2 separate regions of the Homo sapiens genome follow, and region 1 is linked to region 2. The links are contacts of gene promoters, found by promoter capture Hi-C in human tissues and cell types (Jung and others, 2019). All regions are on one chromosome and are shown on one strand. Each heading gives the region's core, a stretch centred on a gene start or on the middle of the fragment in contact. The rest is flanking DNA. Distances are from core to core; before and after follow the strand shown.

Region 1 (5,517 bases), core at 408-2,907, 420 kb after region 2:
TGGCTGCCTTGTGTCATCTGTCCTATTGTCCTAGAATATCATTTGTATCTCTTATTGTTATATAACTTTTTACTTGTTTGTCTTGTTTCACAACTCATTTTTAATCTTGAGCACAGGGAATATATATATATATATTTATTTATTTATTTTGAAACAGGTTCTGGCTCTGTCACCCAGGCTGGAGTGCAGTGGTGCAGTCTTGGTTCACTGCAACCTCCGCCTTATGGGCTCAAGCCATCCTCCATCCTCCCACCTCAGCCTCCTGGCTAGCTGGGACTATAGGCACGTGCCACCAGGCCCAGCTTTTTTTTTTCGAGATGTATTGCCCAGGCTAGAGTGCAGTGGTGTGATCTTGGCTCACTGCAACCTCCACCTCCTGGGTTCAAGCTATTCTCCTGCCTTAGCCTCCTGAGTAGCTGTGATTACAGGCATGCGCCACCACCCCTGGCTAATTTTTTTATTTTTAGTAGAGACAGGGTTTCACCATGTCGGTCAGGCTGGTCTTGAACTCCTGACCTCATGATCCGCCTGCCTCGGCCTCCCAAAGTGCTGAGATTACAGGCGTGAGCCACTGCGCCCGGCCTATGCCCGGCTAATTTTTGTAATTTTTGTAGAGATGGGGTTTTGTCATGTTGTCTGGGATGGTCTCAAACTCCTGAGGTCAAGCAGTGTGCCTGCCTTAGCCTCCCAAAGTGCTGGGATTACAGGCATGAGCCACCGTGCCCAGCAGGAAACGTATCTTAAGCCTGTCCCCTACAATGCCTTGCCCGTAGTAGATCTATACTTTGCTGTGACCCAGTGGACCTCTTGTCGTAGAGGCTGCTCAAAGGCTTGATTGGCTTTGTAGAGTTATATCATATCCAGGCTCTTAGGTCCTGCTAATTCCCTTGCGCCCCTTTTGCCTTGTTCTCTCTTCTAGGCACCTCATTGTGAACATGCTTTCTGCAACGCCTGCATCACCCAGTGGTTCTCTCAGCAACAGACATGTCCAGTGGACCGTAGTGTTGTGACGGTCGCCCATCTGCGCCCAGTACCTCGGATCATGCGGAACATGTTGTCAAAGCTGCAGATTGCCTGTGACAACGCTGTGTTCGGCTGTAGTGCCGTTGTCCGGCTTGACAACCTCATGTCTCACCTCAGCGACTGTGAGCACAACCCGAAGCGGCCTGTGACCTGTGAACAGGGCTGTGGGTGAGATTTGTTCCCTTCTGCCCCACATGGATAAGGGCCATCTCATTTATGCCCCTGTCTCTGGCTGCCCTCCTCACTAGCTGAGGAGGTCTCTTTGGCATGTTGGCAAGGAGTATTCTTAGCCTCCTTGGCTTCCTGCTCTAAGATCTTACTTTCTTGCTGCTTTTCCAACTATAATCATTTTGCTCTTGCTTTAACAAAAGAAGGGGCACAGCAATTTAGTAAATTTGTGTAATAACATTAAAGCTTGATTGACTCTATTCTTCCCTTTCAGTCCAATACTACTTTCCGTTTGTCAGGTTGACTGCTATAATTGCCAGCCTTCTCATATTTCCTCTTGCCCTATTTTTTTATTTCTGTGGGTTATGAAATATTCGACTAAATGTTGATAGCTGAAGGGCATGTTAGCTCACACCTGTAATCCTAGCACTTTGGGAGGCCGAAGTGGGCAAGTCACTTCAGGCCAGGAGTTCAAGACCAACCTGGCCAACATGGCAAAACCTTGTCTCTACTAAAAATACAAAAATTAGCCAGGTGTGGGGCCGGGCGCGGTGGCTCACGCCTGTAATCCCAGCACTTTGGGAGGCCAAGGCGGGTGGATCACGAGGTCAGGAGATTGAGACCATCCTGGCTAACACATTGAAACCCCGTCTCTACTAAAAATACAAAAAACTAGCCAGGCGTGGTGGCAGGCACCTGTAGTCCCAGCTACTTGGGAGGCTGAGGCAGGAGAACGGCATGAACCTGGGACGGGGAGCTTGCAGTGAGCAGAGATTGAGCCACTGCACTCCAGCCTGGGCAACAGAGCGAGACTCCGTCTCAAAAAAAAAAAAAAAAAATTAGCCAAGTGTGGTGGTGCTCGCCTGTAATCCCAGCTACTCAGGAGGCTGAGGCATGAGAATCACTTAAAACCAGAGGTAGAGGTTGTAGTGAGCTGAGATCGCGCCATTGCACTCCAGCCTGGGTGACAGAATGAGACTCTGTTCCCCCTAACTAAAAAATAAAAAGAATGTTGATAGCTGGGGCTGTGAATATAGGGCTTCTCTGAAGGAATAAGTGCACAGGCAGAATCTGTAGGAGGAAAAGGAGAGCTGTGCAGTAGATAAAAACAGTGTGTCAAAATAAATAAATAGGCCCCGTGCGGTGGCTCACGCCTGTAATCCCAGCACTTTGGGAGGACGAGGCGGGCGGATCACCTGAGGTCAGGAGTTCAAGACCAGCGTGGCCAACATGGTGAAACCCCATCTCTACTAAAAATATAAAAATTAGCCAGGTGTGGTGGTGGGCACCTGTAATCCCAGCTACTCGGGAGGCTGAGGCACAAGAATTACTTGAACCCATGAGGCGGAGGTTGCAGTGAGCTGAGACCGTGCCATTGCACTCCAGCCTGGGTGACAAGAGTGAAACTTGGTCTCGAAAAAAAAAAAAAAAGGCCAGGCGCGGTGGCTCACGCCTGTAATCCCAACACTTTGGAAGGCCGAGGGGGGCAGATCACGTGAGGCCAGGAGTTTGAGACCAGCCTGGCTAACATGGAGAAACCCCATTTCTACTAAAAATACAAAAAGTTAGCCGGCCATGGTGGCGCGCACCTGTAATCCCAGCTACTCGGGAGGCTGAGGCAGGAGAATCGCTTGAACCTGGGAGGCAGAGGTTGCGCTGAGCTGAGATCATGCCATCGCACTCCAGTTTGGGCAACAAGAGCGAAACTCCGTGTCAAAAAAAATAATAAAAATACAAAATAAAATAAATTTAAAAAATAGATAAAACACTGTGTCTTGATTGGGGAAAGAAATTTAAGGAAAATAGACAGCAAAGGGGCAAGTAGGAAGCTTGGACGAAGAAAGTGAAGGGAATAAACAAGAGGGAGGCCTGAAATGAATGTTAGAAATTTTGGGTAGGACAAAATCTACTTAGCAGTTATCTGCCACAGAATAGGCCATTTGCATACATGTCCCAGGGATCACCTCTGTTCTGCTCTTTCCCCACCCTGGTCTGCAGCCTGGAGATGCCCAAAGATGAGCTGCCCAACCATAACTGCATTAAGCACCTGCGCTCAGTGGTACAGCAGCAGCAGACACGCATCGCAGAGCTGGAGAAGACGTCAGCTGAACACAAACACCAGCTGGCGGAGCAGGTAGGCCCCAAGACACGGGGGAGAACATATCCCTCATATGCAGATAACTGCCTGCCTGTGGGTAATAAAAACCAGTTGTGAACACACAGACCAGTGCTTACACTTGTGAGCCTAGATGAGTGGATATTCTGCCTGTGGCTTAGCAGGGAATCAGATTGGAGCTCTCCTTGACTTTTCTTCATCCCATTCATAGCATTAATTCACCTACCAGTTATCACATGCCTCCTCTGTGAAGGCACATTTGTAAGTACTAAGGAGACAGCTGTGAGTGAGACAGTCTTATCCCTGTCTTCCTGAAGCTTACAAACTGGTTGTTCTTCAGATCTCTCAGTTGCCCTCATTCTTGGATAAACTTTTGTCTTTTTTCTGCTGTCTGCCTTAACCATTATTCCTGTTCTTCTTCCCCACAACAGAAGCGAGACATCCAGCTGCTAAAGGCATACATGCGTGCAATCCGCAGTGTCAACCCCAACCTTCAGAACCTGGAGGAGACAATTGAATACAACGAGATCCTAGAGTGAGTGTCACTCAGGACGTGGAGTGATTTCATGTCCTGACAACAAGGCCTGAAAGGAGGAAGAGCAGGAGAGTAGCAGAAGGAGGGCATTGGAGAGCTGGGCTGGGGGTCACTGCTTCTCAGATATTGGCATTAAGGACAGGGGCAGAGGAGAAGAGGATAACCCTTAGCTCCACTACAGGATGTCTTATGTGTTTGGGTGGATGGAGGGAAAGCCTGCCCAAGGATGCACTTTATCCAGAATTAGGTGAGTACCCATGTACAAAGCCCTGTATTAAAGGCTGTGGAGTGCTAGGAGGGCCAAAAAGAAATAGAAGATATCGTCCTGTCTTCAGGTAGCTTACAACCCAGAGAAGAGGAGGCAGAGTGCAAGTCCAGGAAAGTGATCTCTAAAATGCAGCAAAAACAAGCGAAGTATACAAGTGAAGTCTAAGATCTCTTTCAGTTCTGGAGTCCTATACAGTTCATAGAGTAAACTGTAAGTGTGAATCAATATATACAGGGCAAATAGTGCTGAGTGGGACATAGGATAGAGGAATAATTGTTTTATTCACTAAACATAGAGCACTAACTGTGTTAGGCGCTATATGTGCTAAGTATTGGAATTTCAAAGAAAAGTAACAGAGACAGAGTGCAGACTTGTGGAATTTAATCTGGTGAGTAACATGTGGTGACTCAGTTGGGACCAAGTGGGGAAAGATTTGGGGTTTCTGAGCCAATGATGGAAGGAAAGAAGGAAGAATAGGTAAGCTGAGTGCAGAGTGGGTAGTTATTTCTATTAGCAGAAAAAGCCAATACAGAGAAAGGAGATGAGCTGGAATGACCATCTTTAACCACCTCCACACAGGTGGGTGAACTCCCTTCAGCCAGCAAGAGTGACCCGCTGGGGAGGGATGATCTCGACTCCTGATGCTGTGCTCCAGGCTGTAATCAAGCGCTCCCTGGTGGAGAGTGGCTGTCCTGCTTCTATTGTCAACGAGCTGATTGAAAATGCCCACGAGCGTAGCTGGCCCCAGGGTCTGGCCACACTAGAGACTAGACAGATGAACCGACGCTACTATGAGAACTACGTGGCCAAGCGCATCCCTGGCAAGCAGGCTGTTGTCGTGATGGCCTGTGAGAACCAGCACATGGGGGATGACATGGTGCAAGAGCCAGGCCTTGTCATGATATTTGCGCATGGCGTGGAAGAGATATAAGAGAACTCGACTGGCTATCAGGAAGAGATGGAAATCAGAAAATCCCATCACTCCAGCAGCTGGGACCTGAGTCCTACCCACCATTCTTAATACTGTGGCTTATACCTGAGCCACACATCTCCCTGCCCTTCTGGCACTGAAGGGCCTTGGGGTAGTTTGCTCAGCCTTTCAGGTGGGAAACCCAGATTTCCTCCCTTTGCCATATTCCCCTAAAATGTCTATAAATTATCAGTCTGGGTGGGAAAGCCCCCACCTCCATCCATTTTCCTGCTTAGGGTCCCTGGTTCCAGTTATTTTCAGAAAGCACAAAGAGATTCAATTTCCCTGGAGGATCAGGACAGAGGAAGGAATCTCTAATCGTCCCTCTCCTCCAAAACCAGGGAATCAGAGCAGTCAGGCCTGTTGACTCTAAGCAGCAGACATCCTGAAGAAATGGTAAGGGTGGAGCCAAATCTCTAGAAATAAGTAGTGAGGCC
Region 2 (5,296 bases), core at 149-2,648:
CCCCACTCTGTTGCTTTTCCAGAATATTCAGCAGCCTGAGCTTTGCACAGTTTAGGCAACTGTTTCTAGAACTGCATTGCATTGAATTAAATGGGAATTATCTTCAAGGCTGCAAAGTGTTGAGTTGCAAGGAAAGGAAACCTGGTTTCCTTTCTTGTCATATTTTATCCACTGTTTGACATTGAAGAAGTCATTGAACCTCTTTGGGTCTTAATTTCTTCATTTGATGAAGGAGAGAAGGTTGAACTAGAATTTTTTTTTTTTTTTTTTTTTGAGATAGAGTCTCCCTCTGTCACCCAGGCTGGAGTGCAATGGCGCGATCTCAGTTCACTGCAACCTCCACCTCCCAGGTTCAAGCGATTCTCTTGCCTCGGCCTCCTGAGTAGCTGAGATTACAGGGGCACGCCACCACACCCAGCTAATTTTTGTATTTTTAGTAGAGACCGGGTTTCATCATGTTGGTCAGGCTGGTCTTGAACTCCTGACATCATGATCCACCTGCCTCGGCCTCCCAAAGTGCTGGGATTACAGCCGTGAGCCACCGCGTCCGGCCTGAACTAGAAATTCTCTAAGCTCTAACATCATATGACACTGTTCTTCATCCTGGTGCCCTGCAGTGGACATTTTAGGTGACAGCCAAACTCTAGTCCTCTGCTAGATTTTACTTTTCTGAGTTTTCACACAGTTATGTAGCCCTGTCAGAAAAAAATTCCCAGAACCATAGAATGGGTGGACATTTGTGGCATCTTTTTGCTGATTAGTTTTCAGCTTATCCTTTACTTCTCTGACTGCATTTAGGCTACACTCAGGTCTTTGCTGTCTGGTTCCAGAGCCGAACCTTCTTTCCCCCACGCACAGGAATCTTTCCTTTCCGGTGACCAGGGCCCTGCAGATGTCGCCAGGAAAGTGGTGATCCAGGCAGGACCAGGCTGCACTGAAGGGACAGAGGTGAGTGGGTGGCTGACTCTTGCCTCTCCCCATCCCTTTACTGAATCGCGACCTGAGTGACTAACCTTTCTATTTCCACGTTTCCATTACCCTACCTGGGAAATAACTGCCCCCGAAATTCCCCTGACTCTTACCCCTACCAGCCTGTTAGAGAAGTGGCACCTGCCTTTGGGCCTAGACGTTTGGTCTAGTCTTTTAAGTTAACCTTGGGACTGTGGCATGCCTTTCAGTTTGCCCTGTGTGAAGCAGGACCACTGCCTCCATGAGATGCGGGTGCAGAGGGAGCTGCCAGGTGGGCAAGGTGGCCAGAGTTGCAGGAGGCACAGCGGCGCTAGGACCCAGGTCCGGGTCGGAAAGATGGGCTGGCGGGCTTTAGGACCCTGTGGCGGAGGCCGCGTGGGGAGACTCTCTCCCGGCCGAGGCTTCTCCGCCCCCTCCGGCTCCGACTCACTCCTCCCCCGCCGGCCATGTTGGCTCCTCTCGGGCCCCGCGGTTGAGCCGCGTCCCCCTCCCCCTTCCCGAACCCCGGACCCCAGACCCCCTCCCCAGCGGGCGTCTCCACCCGTTCTGGCGCCCGGAGCGCGGCCATGTGAACCGCTTGTACCCCGGGGAGAGACGAGCCCCGAGCCCGGCTGGACGCCGCTGCCTCAGGTTTGTGGGGTCTGTGGCCAGGGGCCTGAGGGGGAGGGAGCCCCGCTTTCATCCGAGGCTTCCCTCGGGGAACAGAAGCTCCAGAGCCGGCTTGAGCCTTGCCGGGGCGGGAAGCCGACGGGAGCTTATTTCCTGCGAGGATCCAACCCGAGGCGAGGGTCTCCTTGCTCTGGGGTCTGGGAGGAGAACAGGGCTGGTGGGGCTGCTGAGGACCCCGGACGGGGCCGCGGGGGCAGGAGGAGCTGTAGGGGCTCCCGGCGACAGTGAGGAGGCGGAGAAGCCGCCTGGCTGGTGGAGATGACTCCTGTGGGGGACTTGGGGTGGAATCCCCGGGAGGGGCTCCACCTCCTCGGGTGGGGGTGGGGATTGCCTGAGCGCGAGGGGTGGGTGAGGGGGTTCCCTTGGCGGGTTAAAACGCTCCGTTTGCGGGGAGCTGGGCGTTTTGACTGTGGTGAGTGGAGGGCGGAAGGGGTTTCCAGGGGTCTGAGGGTGTCTCCCTCGGGGAGCGCACCCATTCTCTTGAGCGTGAAGATCAGGAGAGGGCCTTCCTTGCTGAGGGTGGTGCTGCGCTTGGCTTGGGGCCCTCGCGTCCCGGGAGAATCGCGCACTCCGGGGATGGAGGTTGATAGGGCTTCCGCTGAGGCTTTCCAATTTGAGCTGGGCTGAGGGGCAGAAGGGAAGAATAAAGAGGAATTCCTTTTTCCAAGGAGATTCCTCACTGAGGGGATCCCCGCTTCCGTGGCAGAAAGATGATACCGCATCATCCCTTTCTTTCCCGGTGTTCCCAGTTTTCAGGAGAAGGCAATGTCAATAGCAGTTGTCCTTTGTAGGGTTAATTGGAGTGAGAGATTTGTCTGCTTTGGGGGACGACGGAGGGGATAGCTTTCCACCTCTATCTGTACACAAACAGCCCCTCCCCCAGCCTCCCGCAGGAAGTGGCCGGGAAATGGCAGCTGTGCGTTTGCTGCTGCGTGTCTTGTTGTTTTGAAATGTCCATTTTAATCAGATTTGGTTTCATTTTCTGAAGCCTTCTGGGCAAGCTTGGATCTTGCCAACCATGTGGCCCGAGAGACCTTTCGTTGGACTTTTTTTTTTTTTGTAAACTTGTCAACTGGAAGTAGTCAACTTCAGTTGACTCACGTATCCCAATCCCTTCTCCAGAACATCTCTGTCTTCCTGTCTGGTTTCGTTTTGTTTTCCCTTTAGCTAGAGGTCATAGAGAAGCAAACTCAGTTATCTACCAGCGGGGTACGCTCTATGTAAGTGATGCAAATTCCCTCAGCATAGAGAGCTGTCAGGGAGACTAGAGAGCTTTTGTGGCACGAGTAGCTTCTTGGGGTCCTACTTTAGTATAGTTATTATGACAGTTTCTATATTGCAGAGCACCTGAGCAAGTGAGCTTGTGAAGAAGGGTAGATTCTAAGAAATGGACGAAGAGGAAGGGGTGAGGAAGATTTAACTATTAGATGGATTTGTGTGTCGGGGGTAGGGACTGATTAACAGACTGAGATTGGTGAACTCAGTCCTTGGTGGTGATTCTAGCCTAAGGGCAGCCCCTGTGGGAAGCTTGTTATTTGACTAAGGGGTGCTGGAGATACTACCTTCTGCAGAATCAACTAATTAGAATAGTACAGTTTGTTATCATATGACTTACTCTTTAATCCATAAAAGAACGTCTCCCCTCTTATTCTTCTTGGAGATTGGTAAGCTTTTCCTCTGTTCCCTGCAAAGTCGTGCCCAGATTTTTTTTTTCTTTCTTTTCACTTGATAATCCCAGGATATTTCTCCTGTAACATATAGTGATGGACTGTGTGCTATGTCCCCAGGCATTTTGTGGCACACTGGATTTGGTTAGGGGCAACAGTTGGCCACAGAATTTTATTTTTCTTTCTTTTCTTTTTCTTTTCTTTTTTTTTCTTTCTGTCTTTTTTTTTTTTTTTTTTTTTTGAGACGGAGTTTTGCTTTTGTCGCCCAGGCTGGAGTGGTGTGATCTTGTCTCACTGCAACCTCTGCCTCCCGGGTTCAAGCGAGTTGCCTGTCTCAGCCTCCCGAGTAGCTGGGATTACAGGAGCCCGCCACCGCATCCAGCTAATTATTTTATTTTTAGTAGAGACGGCGTTTCATCATGTTGGCCAGGCTGGTCTCGAATTCCTGACCTCAGGTGATCTACCCACCTCGGCCTCCCAAAGTGCAGGGATTACAGGTGTGAGCCACCATGCCTGGTCTTCTCTTCTTTTCTTTTTTTTCTCTTCTCTCTCTCTTTTCTTTTCTCTTTCTTTCTTTCTTTTTTTTTTTTTTTGAGACAGGGTCTCACTCCGATGCCCAGGCTGGAGTGCAGTGGCGCCATCATAGCTCACTGCAGCCCCGACCTCTTTGGCTCAAGTGATCCTCCCACCTCAGCCCCCTGAGTAGCTGGGACCACAGACACGCACCACCACATCCAGCTAATTTTTTGTAATTTTTGTAGAGGTGGGGTTTTGCCAGTTTGCACAGGCTGGTCTTGAACTCCTGGGCTCAAGTGACCTGCCTGCCTTAGCCTCCCAAAGTACTGAGATTACAGGCATGAGCCACCATGCCCGGCCTATGACCCCAGGACCACAGGATTTTAGATTTTGAAAGATAAAGTTTTGTTTTTTTCTTTTTCTTTTTTTTTTTTTTTGAGATGGAGTCTCGCTCTGTTGCCCAGGCTGGAGTACGGTGGCACCATCTGGACTCACTGCAACCCTCGCCTCCCAGGTTCAAGCGATCCTCCTGCCTCAGCCCTCCAGTAGCTGGAATTACAGGCATGCGCCACCATGCCTGGCTAATTTTTGTATTTTTAGTAGAGAAGGGGTTTCACCATGTTGGTCAGGCTGGTCTCGAACTCGAATTGAGCCTCCCAAAGTGCTGGGGTTACAGGCATAAGCCACAGGGCCAAGCCTTGAAAGATAACATTTTCAGATTATTTGGACTATTCTGAAAACTACGTAAGCCTGTCATTTAAATCATCTTTTCACTATTTATTTTCCAGGCAAAAACCCCTCCCACCTAGATGAAGATCCCTAGATTAAAGATCCAGTATGGGAGCAGATAGACACTTATGATTGTGTGAAAGTGGCATCATCACTAGTAAGATAGCAGCATCATTGCTCTTCTCACTGGGGCTGTTGGGGTTTTTGATATTCTGGAAACAGTAAAAACAAGTCCATCTGATGTCAGCATCCTTTTTCTTGCCCCTGATTAGTTCCTTTAAGTTGCTGTCTGATGGGGTTGATTTGATGCTGATTTTAAGTTCCCCTTTCTTCAGCCTTTGCTTACCTGAATTGGCACTTGACAGAACAGCAAGTTGATTTTCCCTGTTGGGGGTTAAAAGAGTAAAGAAAGGAGAGATAACTACTCTTGAGTCTTTGGACTTTTAAAAGAAAAGCTGATTTTGAGAAAATAGTGATTTCATTTGATACATGATTGAATTGGGAGCTGAATGAAGCAAACCTTTCATGGCCTTCTTATAAAATGGGTGCATTTTTCTGTCAGAGAAATATATTTCTTAATATTTCAAGCTTCTCGATGAAAGAAAAAATCTGAGGTGTAAAGAGAGCTGTATGGGCTGACCCCAGAGCCAGTCTAGAATGAAGGGTTCATCTTGTAGTCTTGCGGCTCTGGAATCAAGTATTACTGGGAGAGAAGCAAAGCTTGTTAGGGTTACTGACAGTGTCTT

The links. The method cuts DNA at HindIII sites, captures the fragments that hold promoters and counts their contacts. A contact is called where the count stands out against the background at its distance.
Region 1: a contact is called between a fragment that was not itself captured here and the fragment with the promoter of BAZ2A in region 2, in 1 of the 25 tissues and cell types used here (hippocampus).

The regions. Positions count from the first base shown.
Region 1 is chr12:56,205,971-56,211,487 of GRCh38, reverse strand. It overlaps RNF41 (ring finger protein 41), which reads left to right. Exons shown (of 7, transcript NM_005785.4): 4 at 920-1,191; 5 at 3,190-3,325; 6 at 3,739-3,842; 7 at 4,690-5,517. The coding sequence ends at 5,041. Among named protein-coding and RNA genes, the nearest start is that of RNF41, 13 kb to the left of the region's middle. RefSeq lists a silencer at 3,309-3,358. The HindIII fragment of the contact is 6,706 bases long and covers 1-5,010 here.
Region 2 is chr12:56,626,428-56,631,723 of GRCh38, reverse strand. BAZ2A (bromodomain adjacent to zinc finger domain 2A) reads left to right here and starts at 1,398. Exons shown (of 29, transcript NM_001300905.2): 1 at 1,398-1,599. RefSeq lists enhancers at 1,092-1,161, 1,192-1,241, 4,020-4,521 and a silencer at 1,462-1,811. The HindIII fragment of the contact is 8,774 bases long and covers 1-2,902 here.